2 separate regions of the Homo sapiens genome follow, and region 1 is linked to region 2. The links are contacts of gene promoters, found by promoter capture Hi-C in blood cells and fetal thymus (Javierre and others, 2016). All regions are on one chromosome and are shown on one strand. The core of a region is centred on a gene start or on the middle of the fragment in contact, and the rest is flanking DNA. Distances in the headings are between cores, read along the strand shown.

What was found. Contacts are between HindIII fragments. The CHiCAGO score rates a contact against its expected background, and 5 or more counts as called.
Region 1: a fragment that was not itself captured here is called in contact with the fragment with the promoter of PYGO1 in region 2 in 1 of 17 cell types (M1 macrophages); the score reaches 5.3 in M1 macrophages.

Annotation. Positions count from the first base shown.
Region 1 is chr15:55,827,189-55,833,110 of GRCh38, reverse strand. It overlaps NEDD4 (NEDD4 E3 ubiquitin protein ligase), which reads left to right. Exons shown (of 29, transcript NM_006154.4): 27 at 7-103; 28 at 2,525-2,597; 29 at 3,112-5,922. The coding sequence ends at 3,214. Among named protein-coding and RNA genes, the nearest start is that of PRTG, 87 kb to the right of the region's middle. The HindIII fragment of the contact is 2,596 bases long and covers 181-2,776 here.
Region 2 is chr15:55,584,398-55,590,781 of GRCh38, reverse strand. PYGO1 (pygopus family PHD finger 1) reads left to right here and starts at 2,437. Exons shown (of 3, transcript NM_001367806.1): 1 at 2,437-2,947. The coding sequence starts at 2,899. LOC124903497 (a long non-coding RNA gene) reads right to left here and starts at 2,232. Exons shown (of 2, transcript XR_007064647.1): 1 at 1,963-2,232; 2 at 1-1,479. RefSeq lists silencers at 2,416-2,535, 2,616-2,665. The HindIII fragment of the contact is 18,242 bases long and covers 1-6,384 here.

The DNA of each region.
Region 1 (5,922 bases), core at 229-2,728, 240 kb before region 2:
ATTCAGGCTGTTTTAATGATGGATTCAGAAAAAAGAATAAGATTACTTCAGTTTGTCACTGGCACATCTCGGGTGCCTATGAATGGATTTGCTGAACTATACGGTAAGGATTTTCCATAGATCATTAAAAAAATGGAATAATGCGTATTGTCTTTTTCATGGCTGACGAATCCGCAAGCTTCCATCATTTACTAACACTTAGCTTAATTTTAAAAAGAATTAAGATTTTGAAAGTGATACCATTAGGGACACTGGAGTAGGCTAAAATATATTTACACCTTCTAATCAGATAATAAAGGGGAAAACTGGAAACATCAAATGACTTGAGTCACTTTCCGTTCTTTAACTTCAAATTCTATGCCCAGTATGCATCCGTTACAGAAAAAGCATTACCTTGGCCGGGAGGGGTGGCTCACACCTGTAATCCTGCACTTCAGGAGGCCGAGGCAGGCAGATCACTTGAGGTCAGGAGTTCAAGATGAGCCTAGCCAACACAGTGAAACCCCGTCTCTACCCAAAAATACAAATATTAGCTGGGCTTGGTGGTGCACACCTGTAGTCCCAGCTACTTGGGAGGCTGAGGCAGGAGAATTGCTTGAACCCAGGAGGCGGACGTTGCAGTGAGCCAAGATCGCACCACTGTAGTTCAGCCTGGGTGACAGACTGAGACCCTGTCTCAAAAAAAAGAAAAAGCATTACTTCTAATGTGATAGTTCAGGATAGCATTTGAAGTTTCACAGAATGTTACTAAGTGTATTTTTAAAAAAATAAAAACAGAGTCATGGTTGAATACCTTTAAGGAAATGCTGGACTAAACAAAGTTAAATGGATTTCTTCAGGACTTCTGTAGAACCTTTACTGTTAGAAGAAAACAAAAGCATTGTTTCCCAAACTTATTTGATCATGAAATCTTTTTTTTTTTTTTTTTTCAAGATAGGGGTGGAGAATCTCATTAGGCTACTATTTTTCATTTCTTGTGGGAGGCAGCAGGACTGGGAAGACTACATATCTCTTGATTTTCAGAATAGTTAATGCAGTTTTCGGTAAAGTAAGATTCTATGTATTCTATCAAATTATTTTCCAGTTGATGTATAAAACTGGAAGTGTGTTTTGTTTAAAAGTGCCATTTCTGATGTAGATTACAGCAACTTTTCTCATATTGATTCATATTCTGTTTATTGGAATGATATTTACTTGCTTTTAAGGAAACCAAGAATCCAAGAATAAATCTTTTACAAAGGATGTACCTAAAGTAGGAGGCCTACTCAGAACAATGAGTAAGATTAGGATTGACCTGGGGACTACAAGTCGGGACTGCTGCCTAGGAAATTGCTAAGCTGAATTTTTTGTGCAAATAGAAGCTGACCATATGATGGGATAGCTAAACCTTTCTTCTCCATGGCAAATCTGGTCAGCTTGCCAAGCCTCATTAATATGAGTTTGCAGAACTGATCAAGCAGCTGCTACCTCTCTACCTAGAGTAACCACTCAAAGTGGTTAGCTTTGCCAGTAACCAATTCAGTCATTCTTTGCCTAATTGGACTTGATAGCCTCTTTCTTTTTCATGGTTTCACCTGACTCCCCTTCCTCCATCTTCTCTACTTTAACAAGTTAGTAGCGAAAAATGAAGGCAGGGCAAACAAATGCCCCTTTCCGTCTCTGGCCTCTCTTCTCTCTTCTATGTAACCCAGCCCCATAGCCATCCACTGATTTCATGCACTGTTTGAAATTTGGGGCAAATATCCCACACATAGAGCCAGAGTTGTTTGTGTTAGAATACAAAGTCAAATTCTTAGAATACAAAGTCAAATTCTTATGTATTTATAGGAAGAAGTTATTTCAAAATGTTAAAATTACAATATTAGATAGCCAATAAAAAGTATGTTAAGGCGGCTGGGTGCGGTAGCTCATGCCTGTAATCTCAACATTTTGGGAGACTGAGGCAGGCAGATCACCTGAGGTCAGGGGTTTGAGACCAGCCTGGCCAACATGGTGAAACCCCATGTCTAGTAAAAATACAAAAATTAGCTGGGTGTGGTGGCACACTCCTGGAATCTCAGCTTCTTGGGAGGGCTGAGGCATGAGAATCATTTGAACCCAGGAGCCAGAGGTTGCATTGAGCCGAGATCATGCCATTTTACTTCAGCCTGGGTGACAGAGTGAATGGCTTGTGGCCAGGAGTTCAAGACCAGCCTGGGCAACATAGTGAGACCCCCATCTCTACAAAATGAATTTTTTTAACAGTTAGCCAGGCGTGGTGGTGCACACCTGTAGTCCTGGCTACTCAGGAGACTAAAGCAAGAGGATCACTTGAGCCCAGGAGCTTGAGGCTACAGTGAGCTTGAATCGTACCACTGCACTCCAGTCTGGGTGACAGAGGGATACCCCATCTCTAAAATATAAATAAATAAACCAGATTAGTTCCCTGTGTGTGTGTAGGAACTAGTGTACACTAGAAAAAGTTTTGATATGCCTGGAGATCCTTGTAGAGAGTAAATGAAACCAAATAAATTCTTCCTTATAGGTTCAAATGGACCACAGTCATTTACAGTTGAACAGTGGGGTACTCCTGAAAAGCTGCCAAGAGCTCATACCTGGTAAGCAGTTGTTTGGACCTTGATAGAACAAAGCCTCAGAGAGTGAGATTCCTCTGTTAGTCTAGCCACAGCAGGGCTAGTCTCCTCTGTGTTATGTCGGTGGCAGGTATGGATTATGGGTAAGAAGGAGTTGGTGACACCCAACGAACAGGTGTTTTGTTACCAAGTTGGCCCAAGCTTGAAGTCCAGGTAGCTGAAGATCAGAGAGACCCACCTAAACTGAGTGATGAGTGATGGGCTGTCCCAAGACAGGCTAGAACATTCCATCTTGGAGGCTGAAGTGGCAGAGAACTCAGACATTTGGAAGATGTGGTGGGGGCAGCACTCCACAAGGAGTTGTGCAGAGTATCCATGCCCAGAACCCAGTCCTACGTCTTACTTCTACCCCTGGTGAAAAGACATATTTTGGTGGTGTTGGAACATTCTCATCAAGAATAGCAGCATTGCTCTGTTTGCTGTGGTGGTACTTGCTTTGTCAGTGTCTTTCATAACCACTTCCTCTCTGTTCTTTCAGTTTTAATCGCCTGGACTTGCCACCTTATGAATCATTTGAAGAATTATGGGATAAACTTCAGATGGCAATTGAAAACACCCAGGGCTTTGATGGAGTTGATTAGATTACAAATAACAATCTGTAGTGTTTTTACTGCCATAGTTTTATAACCAAAATCTTGACTTAAAATTTTCCGGGGAACTACTAAAATGTGGCCACTGAGTCTTCCCAGATCTTGAAGAAAATCATATAAAAAGCATTTGAAGAAATAGTACGACAACTTATTTTTAATCACTTTTAAATAATGTGTTGCATTTACACAGTTGTTTCATGCTGTCTTTAGAGTTAGGTGCCTGCCTAAAGCCAGGCACCACCACACCTGGCTTTAGAGTTCACACAATAGGATATAAGTCCTGTATGACTTAAATAGTGAATTTTGTCCTTAACATTTACCTCTTGTATAGTATCTGCCAGGCAGTTTTTTCTTAAACTACTGAGATGATAACTGTGAAATATTTGTGATACGTGTCATGTGTGAAAAGTTTGATGCATTTTGAGATGGAAAACTGAAATTTGGAAAAAGAAATACTTTACTATTGAGTAAACTACAATATATTTAGTGCTACTCGCAGCTATTTATTATTTTGTAGACCTGCCTTATGCACCTTACTGCCTAGATTTTTGGGAAAAAACTTTGGAAAGTGTGTTACCTATATTTCTAGCCAACTAACTCACAGAAAAACTGTTTACTTCTTCACTTTCGAAGTATTTGGCTTTTGTTAATATGCAGTTTTACTAAACAGATGGTTCATAAGACATGTGAAGCAAATTCATATTTGCAATGGGTAAAAAGTATTAAAGCCTTTCTCTTGCCTGCATATCCTATTGACCATTGGTATAGTCATCACTTTTTCATATTTTAGTGTAGTTAGAAGAATTCCTTCTTCAAACATTAAAGATCCACAAAGCAGTATTTCTAAATATGCCTTGAAGAACTAAATGAAGTGTATAGCACTTGCCTTTACTAGATATTCTTTACACTTGTACAATTATGTAGTAAATGTATGTTTACAGGGTTTATCATGTTTACAGATTAAGCTAATTTCTGTAGTCGCATTTTTATATTTTTAGTATCACTCTAGTAAAAAAACCAAATAATTTGTTTAAAATAACCAAAGAGTTGTTATAATGCATAATTTGTATTAAATTTATTACTATTTCTTATGCCTTTTAAAATACTGTTTACTATGAAGACAATGTTTTTAATTACAAATCCAGAATTCTGTAGGCAAAATGCTACAGTTCATATCTTCCTTTAACCAAACTGAAGTACATAAAGACCATGTACATGTATTCATCAAACGTTTATTGAATGCTGCGTGCCTAGCGCTGTGCTATGCTCTGGGGTAAGAGTTGTCAGCTTCAGAGAAGCTGAGTCCTGATCCTCAAGGAACTTGCAAATGTGTCTATGAATTTGTAAAACAATCAAAAGTAGGCGTAAGCAGAATAAGGCAAAAGGGAAAGTGTTCTAGGTTCCAGCACACCTGCAAAGATAAAGTGTGCCAAGACTGTATTTATATTTCATACTTATATTGTTTCATCCTTATATTGGAATGATTATATAGAAAATGCTCTTAAAAAGATTAAACCTATTTCTCAGTATGGTATCTTGGTGATTTAGGAATAATTGTAAATATATGTTACGAATCTTCTTAAATATATATATATACACACCCTGTGAGAACTGTAAAAAGTACCTCTGGTTCTTGGTTTAAGTTTGTTGGGGTATAACATGATGAGTACTCATTAGCACCTGATAGAAATCTGAAATGTGACAGTAGCAAAACCACTTTCTACTTTCCAAACACCACAGCATCAGCATGGTTTAGGGGAAGCAATTCACAGATTAATGTACCCTGCGTTTTGTCTTCACCATTGTCAACCAGCAGTCAAGGATGAGCACCAGGTATAGTCCTGGTTTGATATCTCACCAGCCATGTGAACTGAAGCAGCTTACTTAACCTCTCTGGATTCATATTTCTTCATCTGTCAAATGAGAGTAATCATGCCCACCCTCATTGTCATGCCAGATTGTCAGAAGTTCCAGACAGATGAGAAAGCAAAAAGTACTTTGTAAAGTGTTATACAATCAGAAGGTGCTTTGTGCTGACCGTCAGATTGTGTCAAGTCAGGTGTGCAAATTGACCACACTCCCAAAGAATCATTTAAAAGTAAAGTGACTTCTAAGAGACAAGGAAGTAGGAACATTTCTGATATTAAATATATAAATAATATGGATACACATGTGTATATCTGTATATGGATCTTACCATCATAATTCATTTTCTTCATATCAGCAAAGTAATAGTAATGTGGGCCAATGCATTTTGGAAATGTCCTCATTATGTAGAATGGAATGTGAAAATTATTTTTGTTAAAACAGGATTTTGCCACAATTATTTAAATATTATGTTTGTGAACTATCTAAGCATGAGAAAATACAAAGCTTTCTTTGTATCTGGCTGATACTCATTTGGATGATTCTGTGACTCATAGAACATGATGTTAAATGAGACCAGACTCAACTGCCACCAGTCCCCAGCTGCAGACCTTCATCCCCTTCATCTCCCACTAGGGGCTCGTGGTCTGGAAGAAACATCTATCAAGCAACACAGCCCCTTATCCCAGATAGAAAAGTGTCTCAAATGCATTCTACTGCGGGACAGTCAGTAGGATCATTTTCATAAAGCAAGGACATCATATGTTTCTAGAAATTACAAGCATATAACTTTAGCCTACAATCTCTTATTAAAAATTTTTAACAAAATTGTA
Region 2 (6,384 bases), core at 1,188-3,687:
AGATGGTCTTTTTATTCTTGATGAATCATTAAAAAGAAGCCAATTCATTTCTCTTGATTTTCATGCTATTTCTGAGTCTCTAGCTTTAGGGAATTACAATAAAGAACTCAAAATCTCTTAGCAATGATTTTTCTGAACCATTCTCCTTCCACTAAGAGTTATAAAATGAAAATATGTCATTTCCATATTTTTCTGGAGGGGGGACAGGGTCTTGCTTGCTCTGTTAACCAGGATGAAGTGTAGTGGTGTAATCATCGCTCACTGCAACCTTGAACTCCTGGGCTTAAGGGATCTTCTTGCCTCAGTTTCCTGAGTAGTTGGGACTATAGGCCGGTGCCACCACGCCTGGCTAATTTTTAAAAATTATTTTGTAGAGAAGGGTCTAGCTTTGTTACCCAGGCTGGTCTCAAATTCCTGGGCTAAAGTGATCCTCCCGCCTCAACCTCCCAAAGTGTTGGGATTTACAGGCGTGAGCCACCACAGCTGGCCTTCATTTCTTTGTTGACTTACCAAAGTGCTTTCAAATTTTCCTCCAACCACCCTATAACATAGATTATTAGATTCAATCTGCTTTATTTTTAATTTTTTTTTTTTTTTTTTTTTGAGACAGAGTCTCACTCTGTCACCCAGACTGGAGTGCAGTGGCGCGATCTCGGCTCACTGCAAGCTCCGCCTCTCGGGTTCACGCCATTCTCCTGCCTCAGCCTCCCGAGTAGCTGGGACTGCAGGCGCCCGCCACCACACCCGGCTAATTTTTTTTTTGTATTTTTAGTAGAGACGGGGTTTCACCGTGTTAGCCAGGATGGTCTTGATCTCCTGACTTCATGATCCGCCTGCCTCGGCCTCCCAAAGTGCCGGGATTACAGGCGTGAGCCACCGCGCCCGGCCCCCAATCTGCTTTATTATATTACCATTTGCTTCGGCTTTATTACACTTACCAAAGCCCTGCCACCCCAGTCGTCCCAGGGCCACTTCAAATCTCTTTATTCATACATCAATGAATATTTTCCCGAACACTTACTATGTGTTACTCAGTATTAGGTACCAGAGGATACAGCAGTGAGCCAGTCAAAATTCCTGCCTGCATGGCGCTTACATTCTAGTTAGGAGGAACCTTCTCCTCAGAGTGCTTCCTGTAAGAATATTTTCCTTAGCCTGTCCTAGTCTGACTCTTCTAATCAGGAATTCCATAATTCCAGACCACCCTTATTAGATAAAGGGTAACATTTGCCTCCGGCCACGCTATGTCTTAACGACGATCAGCCGCTGTGGCGATTGTCTGGTATGCAGCTGTTGAGGCTGTACATTGGCTTCATGTTAACATCTGTTCTCTGTGACACTGTGCAGCTGAATGAGTTGGGTGTCTGTCTCCGGAAGGACGAGACTCCTGTCTGTAGCTAGTTCTGTGTCCTCCCACGCTTCATGAGTGCTTTTCGGTGATTCTTACATCAAAATAAGCCCAGTGGATAACCAGAAAACCTAGCAAAACAAAAACAAAAACAAAAAACAAAAAACAAAAACCAGGGAAAACAATTTCGTAGAAGTGCGTTAAACAATGTCGGAGCTAGAAGAGACCTTCGAGATGTAGCCCCACTGCCTTTTATAGACAAGAAAACTGAGACCCAGAGAGGTTACCTAAGTCGCCTCCGGTCACACAGCCCAACTGAAGAATGTGGACCGGTGATCACATCTAATTTACAATCACACTGGGGGTGTTCCTCCTAAAATTTAACGTCTAAATGAGATCCAGCCGCGTCACCGCTTCTACCCACGCTCCCCCCTCCCCCGCCCACCGTCCTTTCTGGTATTTATTCTACGTCGCTCTTTCTTGAAGAGTCAAGTCGTTAAAATACCAAGTGGAGGCATTCTACAGACAGGTGTCCACACCACGGCCACGCGGACACGGAGTCGGGGAATCTGGATCCCCACATGCCCGCCGAGAACTCTCCAGCTCCCGCTTACAAAGTTTCCTCGCATGGTACGTTCATCTTTCCGATCCCTAGCTGCGAGGCCGAGACGCCTGCTGCTGTGGCCTCCGACGAAGTTCGGAGATGCCCTTTCCTTGCGAAAGCTGGGCCCGGTAGCGTCGGCCGCGGGGTCGGGCGTTCTCGGGCCTGGCGGTCGGCGAGGGAGCGCCGGGCGCGGGGCGGGGCGGCCCCTAGGCGCGCGCTGCCCACCCGGGCTGCAAGAGCCGCGGGCCCGCGAGCCCCGGCTTGGAGCAAGAGGCGCGCGCGGGCCGTGGGGGCTGGGCCGAGGCGGAGCGCGAGGCGGCGGCGGTGGCGGGAGGCGCCGCGGGACGAGGCAGCGGCCCCCGCCCCCCGAAGCCCGTCCCCGCGCGGGGCTGGGGAGCTCAGGGCGGGGAAGCCGCGGGGCCGCGCCACGTCCCTCGCCCGCCCCAGAGCGGGTTTTACAGGCGGCTCCAGTCTGGGGGCTTTTGTGTCTGCGACTCGGGAGCGGCGAGAGAGCAGACCTCCTCCTCAGAGGGCGCTGTGAGTGTGCCGCCAGGGCCGGGCCGCGAGCCTCCTGCTTCCCCTGTCAGCGGCTCCTGAGGCGGCGGCGAAGAAGAAGGAGTGGGAGGAGGCGGCGGCGGCGGCGGCGCACTCGCCCTCAGCACATGCCGGCCCCGGGTGGGGGGCCGCCCCCAGGCCGCGCTCCCGGCCACCGCCGCTGAGCCCCGCCGGTGCCCGCACGCCGCCCCGCCGCCCCGCCGCCCCGAGGCCTCGTCCTCCTCCCAAACTTTGCAAAGTCGGCCCGCGTCCCCACCGCCCTCGGCCGTGCCTCGGCTCCGAGGCTTGCCTCGCAGCCGCAGCGGCCCCGCGAGGAGGAGGAGCCGCCGCCGCAGCATCAAAGAGACCGAATTCCCGCGGCCTGGGGGGGAGTCATGCTTTGCGGTCTGTAATGTCAGCAGAACAGGAGAAGGATCCCATTTCGCTGAAGAGAGTTCGAGGTAACCGAGAAGGGTGCCGGATTGGGGGAACCGGGGTGAGTGAGGTGCGCGGGGCCCCGTGCCCGGCCGCCGGGAGGCCATGGGGCTCTGTCCGGGCCTAAGTCCGCGCAGCCCGCGTCCCGCCGGCACCCCGGGGCCGAGGCTGCGATCCGAGCGCGCGGCCCGGGCGCCCGCTGGCCCCCGAGACATCCGCGCGGATCCCTCGCCTCCCGACTTTGTGTTCGGAGGCAGTTGGAGCCGCAAGCAGCATCCTTTCTTACCCCCTCCTCACCCACCTCTCCTCGTTCTCAAGACAGCACAATAGGCACCTCAAAGGGTGAAAAACAGACACCCCCTGGCAGAGACCTCGAACGGTGCCCACCCCCTCAAAAAAAGTAAGTTGGAGTACACAAGAGTTGATGCTGTTGAAGAAGGGCTCCTGGGCTTTCACGTCTCTCCTGGCCCCCTTCTCGCCCCCCCACCCCGGCAAAGGCAACAAATATTCAGTTTATTTTCCGTAGGTTTAAGAGGAGAAGCTACAAATTCAGAAGGCATTTTCTCTGTTGGTTTATGGATAAGATATTATCTAAAATCAGTGTTATGCATGGTTGATTTTCTTCTTTCTTGCGCACTGGTTAGGAATTTTCCTTTCGTGTTACTATCATCTAAGAAAAATCAGAGGGAACCATGTGTCAAACAAAAGATACTGCATATAAGTTCACAAAAGTCAAATGCCACCCGGAAATTGGGGGATGCCTTTTAGCTCTTAATAAGGTTAAGACTGAAAGTTCTAGAGTTGGAGTAGTACTCACTGTTCATTAAGCAAATATTTATTGAACATCTACTATGTGCTAGACACTGTTCTTGTTACTGGGATACAGCAGTGAACAAAGCAGATAGACAATCTTCATCCAGTAGGAGTTCACCCTCTTGTGGGATAAACAAATGATAAACAGTAGATACAGAATGTCAAATCGTAGGTGGTATGGTGGACAACAAAACAGGAATAGAGGAGAGGAAATATGTGTGGGGATGGGAAGTATGGATTGTATGTAAGGTGATCATGAAAGGGCTCACCTGGTAGATAATGTTTGAGCAAAGACCTAAAGGAAATGATAGAGCCAGGGCCATATGAATTCACGTGGGAAGAGCAGTCTCTGAAAAGCAACAGCAAATGCAAAGCCCCTGTGTCTGGAATATGCCCAGTGTGTGCAATCAACAGCAAAGAAGCTATTGTAACTGCAGCAAAGTGAGCAAGGAAAGAGTCCTGTGACAGGGGCTAAGGAGTAGGATCAAGAATTATTTGATTCTTGAAAAGTGAGCAAAGGTGATAGATATCATTAAGAGTACATTTTTAAATTATAGCATTTTAATAGTAAAATTACAGTCGTTCAGTAGTCTTAATGCTGCCGGCTATAGGATGATTGTGTATTAGAGGGCCTGGTGTGCCATTTAAAAGACTTTGGCTTTTACTCTGAGAAAAGGTCTGCAGAGTTTTGAGCATAAGAGTGAGTGATCTGACATTTTAAACAGGGCATCTTAAGCTGCTGTGCGGAGAATAGACTGTAGAGAAAAGGCTGAAGCAGGGGAGACTAGTAGGGAGGTGATTGCAATAGTCATCCAAACAGGGTAAACAGGGTAAAATGCTTTATAAATCAGTAAGTAGGAAGGTAAATTTCCGGCTGACTTAAGTGATGTAGAGATGAAGGACCACAGTCATTCATTTTTGTTTTTGTTCAATGTGACTAGAAATTAAACATGTATAGAACTAGCTTGTGACACACAATCCAAAAGACATCCACTCAAGAGTATTTTGGTAGAAAATGATTTTCTTAGCCATTTAAGAGAAAACATAATTTAGAGAATATTGTTTTTAAAGGCTTAATATCAGCACAACCTTTAATTTGGTGAAATATTTTAATTGTCTTTTTCTGTTTGTGGTTGTGAGTTGCCAAAGCCTTTAAGGAATAGACCTTCCTGAGATACAATTATTCCCCTGATATTTGTGCTGTATAATTTTGCCTACTATTATAAATTGTTTTGGGGTTAAAGGAAAAGAAAGAGCTATCAAGTTTATACCTTTGAACTGAATTATCAGTCCTAATCAAATTTAATTCTAAATAAAATGGATGAGTGTTTTATTGTGGGTCAAGAACACAGATATATCTTCATTTTGTTCCAACTGCTGTTAAGTTCTATGGCGTAGCTATTGGGGTTGGCTCCGGTGTCAGCTCAAGAATATTCTGAGAGTTAAGTACCAGAATAAAAGACAAAACACTTTTTAAAATAAAAAGTCAGTATTTTTATGTTATGGGGAGAATTTTCTTAATGTCATTTTGTAATAATTAGAACATTCATTAAAAAATTTTTTGGAATATTTTATGATTAGCTCTTCTGAAGCACCATTCTGCTGAACTTCATTGCCCTGGAGCTTTTTGTTATTTAATGTAATTTATATCATCAGACTGCATGCAGGATGTGGTGTTTGCAGGGCATAAACTCTGGAGCAGTGCTTTTCAAACTGTTTCCCATCTGCTGATGTGATAGAGACAGACCTTTTTAATGGTTGTGTATTTATTTTATATGTATTAAAAGAGTCACCAAATACCTTGCTTAGGATAAGGCTAAGATACATATGTGTATAAATACACACATATAGCAATTTAAATGAATTATTAACACACATATAGCAATTACATGAATTATTAAGAAAGTAATATTATAGGTAGAACTCAGATATGGCAAAACTAAAACATGAATGACTGAGGACTTTACAGTAGCATGCTCTGCAGACCAAAAGCATCATAATCACTTGTGATGCTTATTAAAATATAGATTCGTGGATCTACGGAATCAGGACTTCTGGGATCCACAGAGTTGGGACTTCTGCATCTTTAACAAGATCCCCAGGTGCTCCTTATGCATACTGAAGTTTGAGAAATGCCACTAATAGACCTAGATTATAAAGGTGTGAGTAGACCAGAAGCAGCTGGCTGTGGTCTTCCAAACTGTCCTTATATTTTAACAATAGATTTAGAATTACTCTTTAGTGACACAGTATCTTACTCCTATTTTCTACCAGTTCTTAACACTCCACCCCCAAACCTTCACCTTTTGATTATAAGACAGATCTATGAGGACAGGTACTATGTCTTGATTATCTTATTTGCCTTGCCCATAGTAAATGTCAAATGAATGAATGAGTGAATACATGAATTATGCTGCTTTCTGATAGTCCATTTCCCCTCATACTACTTTTACTTGCCCTTTTCCCTTAGAATGTCAACTGCCATCGTTATTTTAACCAATACTCCCATTCTCCAGTATTCCTAGAACTCTTTTAGGCATTGATCTGATGGCAATATTCATTCATTTATTCAACAAATATTTATAGAGCAATCACAGTGCCATATAGTGGGAATGCACTAATTAAGATATGACACCTGGCTGGGCGCAGT